2 separate regions of the Homo sapiens genome follow, and region 2 is linked to region 1. Evidence: promoter capture Hi-C in 16 types of primary human blood cells and fetal thymus (Javierre and others, 2016). All regions are on one chromosome and are shown on one strand. Each heading gives the region's core, a stretch centred on a gene start or on the middle of the fragment in contact. The rest is flanking DNA. Distances are from core to core; before and after follow the strand shown.

Region 1 (2,700 bases), core at 91-2,590:
CCTGTAATCCCAGCACTTTGGGAAGCCGAGACGGGCGGATCACGAGGTCAGGAGATCGAGACCATCCTGGCTTACACGGTGAAACCCCGTCTCCACTAAAAAAAATACAAAAAATTAGCCGGCCTGGTGGCAGGCGCCTGTAGTCCCAGCTACTCGGAAGGCTGAGGCAGGAGAATGGCGTGAACCCGGGAGGCGGAGCTTGCAGTGAGCCGAGATCGCGCCAGTGCACTCCAGCCTGGGCGACAGAGACAGCCTCCGTCCCAAAAAAGAAAGAAACCCACTGCTGTTTAAAGGTAGGTGTGTGTGTGCGTGTGTGTATGTTTCAATGTATCGATAGCTACATCTGCTGAAATAGCCTACAGGCAGGAAAATCCCAGTAGCAAGTTGCTCACCTAGCACTCAGAGCTTTGTTGCTAAGTACCACTCCCCACTGATATTTTTCGTTTGAAAAACTTCTGATACAATAACTGGTCAGGGAAAGTATAGGTAAATCTGGACCAGCCAGGCACAGTGGCTCATGCCTGTAATCCCAGAACTTTGGGAGTCCGAAATAGGTGGATCACTTGAGGCCAAGAGTTCAAGAACAGCCTGGCCAACATGGTGAAATCCCGTCTCTACTAAAAATAAAAAAAATTAGCTGGACGTGGTGCCAGATGCCTGTAGTCCCAGCTACTCAGGAGGCTGAGGCAGGAGAATCCCTTAAACCCAGGAGGCAGAGGTTGCAGTGAGTCAAGATCATGCCACTGCACTCCAGCCTGGGCAACAAGAGTGAGACCCTGTCTCAAAAAAAAAAAAAAAAAAAACACTTTTAGGCCAGGCACGGTGGCTCACGCCTGTAATTCCAACACTTTGAAAGGCCAAAGTGGTTGGATCACTTAAGGCCAGGAGTTCGAGACCAGCCTGGCCAACATGTGAAACCCTGTCTCTACTAAAAATACAAAAATTAGCTGGGCATGGTGGTGCACGCCTGTAATCCCAGCTACTTGGGAGGTTGAGGCAGAAGAATCGCTTGAACCCGGGAGGCAGAGGTTGCAGTGAGCAGAGATCGCGCCACTGCACACCAGCCTGGGCGACAGAGCGAGACTCCGTCTCAAAAAAAAAAAAAAAAAAAAGAAACAAAACAAAAGAATGAAAGAAAAGTCCGAAACCTCCTGCGCCACTGTCCACTAGCTGCGCGCGTTAGGAAACCAGAGGTCAGCGCCCCCGACCCCGCCACCGCCGCGGGTCCCTTTAAGGGAGAGTGGGCGGGGTCCTGCCTTTAACTCCGCCCACGGCTAAGGAGATGCACGGCCTACGAGAGGGGTAGTGTGGGACTGAGCCAATGCGTACGGCGTGACGCCATCCCGCTGCGACCGGCGCTCCCCGGGGCAGGTGGCTGCATAGTCTTGGCGGAGGTGAGTCTCGTGGTGGAGGTGAGGGCAGGCTCCGGGGTATTGCTGCCGGGGGAGGATTTGCTGGGGACCCAAGGCACCCTCGCGTGAGAGCCCTGAGAGCGAATCGCTTCGTCTGACCTCGGGGTTGTCTGGGGCGAGGGCACGAATCACCCCAACCTTTCCGAAGCCTGGTGGAATGGCTTGTGAACTGATCTCAAAAGCAGCCCAAGTCATCCGTCGCTGGGCCGGGGAGGGGGACACCGCGGCGGCCCCGCCGAGTGCTACCTGGGCACTGAGCCTGTGGGGAGAGGCGACCCAGCGGGGTGGAGAGAGATAAGGGACCAGTAACGTCCAGCGTTTGTCCGTGGTATTGAGCGTTCTGTGGGTCAAATTCTCAAAGCACTCCTGCGAAATAGGCCTGCCCATTTTGCAGAAGGGGAACGTGAGGCTTGGCGAAGTTAAAGTTACCGCTTTGTAAGCGCTGTAAAGATGAGAGGTTGGGTAGTGGGGAACGTGTAAGCATCTCTGAAATGGTGATTCAAGCCGGGCGCGGTGGCTCACGCCTCTTAATCCCAGCACTTTGGGAGGCTTGAGGCGGGCGGATCACCTGAGGTCAGGAGTTCGAGACCAGTCTGGCCAACATGGTGAAACTCTGTCTTTACTAAAAATACAAAAATTAGCTCGGCGTGGTGGTGCGGGCCTGTAGTCCCGGCTACTCGGGAGGCTGAGGGAGAAGAATCGCTTGAACCCGGGAGGCGGAGGTTGCAGTGAGCCGAGATCGCGCCACTTCACTCCAGACTGGGCGAAAGAACTAAACTTCATCTAAAGAAAAATACATATGGCCGGGCGCGGTGGCTCACGCCTGTAATCCTAGCACTCTGGGAGGCCGAGGCGGGCGGATCACGAGGTCAGGAGATCAAGACCATCCTGGCTAACACGGTGAAACTCCATCTCTACTAAAAATACAAAAAAATTAGCCGGGCGTTGTGGCGGGCGCCTGTAGTCCCAGCTGCTCGGGAGGCTGAGGCAGGAGAATGGCGTGAACCCAGGAGGCGGCGTTTGCAGTGAGCCAAGATCGCACCACCGCACTCCAGCCTGGGCGACAGAGAGAGACTACATCTAAAAAAAAACAAAACAAAACTGTTTCTGGGTGGAGGGGGGAACGAAAAAGAAAAAAACTGTTTCTGGACTAACCTGGACAGTTCTTGTGACAAAATTCATGTGGCATCATAACCACCAGAATATGAGACTTTGGAATTTGCTTTTCAGGTGACCAAAGCCACGTAATGTCCGTAGTTCGCTCATCCGTCCATGCCAGATGGATTGT
Region 2 (2,700 bases), core at 112-2,611, 1.2 Mb before region 1:
GCTTGTTACCAAAGCTCCCTGAGCTTTAGTTTGTTTTCCAGAGAAAAGATGAAACCAGACCTCTCTCCTAGGGCTGCTTTTGAGGACTACCAGGGATAATGTGTGCAAAGCGCCTGACACAGAGGGCTTCACTCTGTCATTAATTTGCTTCCCACCTCTTGTTTGTGGTTTCCCTGGAATCTTGTGACTAACTCCTGTTGCAGGAAGTCAGGGACCCCAAACGGAGGGACCGGCTGAAGCCATGGCAGAAGAACGTGGATTGTGAAGATTTCATGGACACTTATCACTTCCCCAGTCAATACCCTTGTGCTTGCCTATGCCTGTCTTTACTTTAATCTCTTAATCCTGTCAGCCAAGGAGGATGTATTTCGCTTCAGGACCATGTGATAATTGCGTTAACTGCACAAATTGTACAGCATGTGTGTTTGAGCAATATGAAATCTGAGCACCTTGAAAAAAGAGCAGGATAACAGCAATTGTTCAGGGAATAAGAGAGATAACCTTAAACTCTTGACCGCCGGTGAGCTGGGCAGAACAGAACCATATTTCTCTTCTTCCAAAAGCAAATGGGAGAAATATCTCTGAATTCTTTTTCTCAGCATGGAACGTCCCTGAGAAAGAGAATGTGCGCCTGGAGGTATAGGCTTATAAACAGCCCCCCCGCCAGGTGCACCTGTCTCTTATGGTCGAGGCTGCAGAGATGAAATATACTCCAGTCTCCCATAGTGCTCCCAGGCTTATTAGGAAGAGGAAATTCCCACCTAATAAATTTTGATCAGACCAGTTGATCACAAAACCCTGTCTCCTGATAAGATGTTATCAATGACAATGGTGCCTGAAACTTCATTAGCAATTTTAATTTCGCCTGGGTGCTGTGGTCCTGTGATCTCGCCCTGCCTCCACTTGCCCTGTGATATTCTATTACCCTGTTAAGTCCGTGATGTCTGTCACCCATACCTATTCACACACTCCCTCCCCTTTTGAAAATCCCTAATAAAAACTTGCTGGTTTTTGTGGCTTGTGGGGCATCATGGATCCTACCAACGTGTGATGTCTCCCCAGGACGCCCAGCTTTAAAATTTCTCTCTTTTGTACTCTGTCCCTTTATTTCTCAAGCCGGCCGACGCTTAGGAAAAATAGAAAAGAACCCACGTGATTATCAGGGCAGGTCCCCCGATAAACTCCGTTTCTGAGATCAGTTCTAGTGGCAACCCTCCAAGTCAGCTAGGCCTCAGTTCCTGATCTTACCCGTAAACGCAGTGAGTTTGCTTCTCACAAGCTTTGGTTATCTTGTCTGTCTCCCTTTTTGAAATCCAGGTTTGAAGACTATTCGGCCATGCTTTTGCAGTGAGCACCAGCTTGCTAGAGCCCCTGGGGGGCCGCAGCCAGCAAGCTGGAGAGTTACCAATGTTCCAAGAATGTTTCAGAACCACTTGCTTTGTCAAAGCTTGGCCTTGTGGACTTCCCGTTTTACATGAGATTCTCTAGTCTTTGCCCATCTTCATTTCCTATTGCCTCCTATATATTTTTTTCTTTTTCTTTCTTTCTTTCTTTCTTTTTTTTTTTGTCAGTGGCAACTTTTACATGATTTTCTGTGATCATGCACACAGGGACTAAAAGCACTCACTCTCTCTGCATCTGGGACCCGTCCTCTCCTCTACCTCTCACTGCAGTCAATGGTGTTTGCTCCTCTGCCCTTTGCTCTTGCTGGGCCATGGTGACAGCTTCCTGGCTAGGTTCTCTGCCTTCATTCATGGCCCTGTGTGCCATTTTCCCCGACATCCAAGACTTAAACTTTTAAATATGGTCATCACATCATGTTAACTCTTCACTTTCACTTCTCGCGTAGCTGCTTGCTGTAGCTGGAGTCAAATCTACCCTCCAAAGACCCCCGGCTCCCTCTCTTCCCCTGACTGGCTGTGCTCTGGCTCTTTCCGACCACACGTGTGTCAAGCTCCTACTATCATCCAGGCCTCCCCACGTGCTTGTCCTGTGCTCTAATCGTCTTTCTACACCCAGCTGCTGCCTTTTATCATTCCTGCTTTGGTTCTATCACCGTCTCCTCAAAGAGGTCTTCCCGGCTGTCCCAACTGAAGTAGTCCTCACTTAGCCTCAGCCCCTGTGTAAGCCATGGCAACGTTTCATTTCCTTCATCACACTTAGCACTGTTGAAAATTGTCTTTATTTATTTGTTCCAGCACCACAAAGTTCAGGTGTAAAATAGAGTTTACTGGAGGAAAACAAGCCAAGAAGTAGTGGGTTGCACGGTCTCCTTAAGTCGTGTTACTCCTTAGCTCTTAGACAGGATATACACAGTCTGGTGCATCAGGGCCAAGGCACCAGCAAGGAAGGACAATGTCCCCATGATGCTCTGTATATTTATGGTGTGTATTTAAGAGAAGGGAGCAGGGGATATCTGTGGGACCACACACGTTCTCTAGTTGAGAAAGTGGCCTTGTTGGAAGGGAAGGTCCTCCAGAACCTGGCAACCAGACACTGACCCGTCCTCCTATTAGGCTCGGGTAGAGCGCCTACCAAGTACTCTGCTGAGCTATTATATAAAGGCAGGGAGGAAGTGAGTCCCTGGGGCCATGCTCTTCTGCCTCTCCTGAGTAAAATATAAGCCCCATTAAGAAACAGAGCTTATCTTGTTTACCACTACAATAATACCAGGCACGTAGAAAGGCAATCAAAAAATAT

What was found. Contacts are between HindIII fragments. The CHiCAGO score rates a contact against its expected background, and 5 or more counts as called.
Region 2: a fragment that was not itself captured here is called in contact with the fragment with the promoter of MRPS17 in region 1 in 5 of 17 cell types (total CD4 T cells, total B cells, naive CD8 T cells and 2 more); the score reaches 7.6 in total CD4 T cells.

Annotation. Positions count from the first base shown.
Region 1 is chr7:55,950,537-55,953,236 of GRCh38, forward strand. MRPS17 (mitochondrial ribosomal protein S17) reads left to right here and starts at 1,341. Exons shown (of 3, transcript NM_015969.3): 1 at 1,341-1,394; 2 at 2,643-2,700. The coding sequence starts at 2,660. RefSeq lists an enhancer at 1,394-1,453. The HindIII fragment of the contact is 16,512 bases long and covers 1-2,700 here.
Region 2 is chr7:54,775,381-54,778,080 of GRCh38, forward strand. All of the region lies in intron 1 of SEC61G-DT (SEC61G divergent transcript), which reads left to right. Among named protein-coding and RNA genes, the nearest start is that of SEC61G-DT, 17 kb to the left of the region's middle. The HindIII fragment of the contact is 168 bases long and covers 1,278-1,445 here.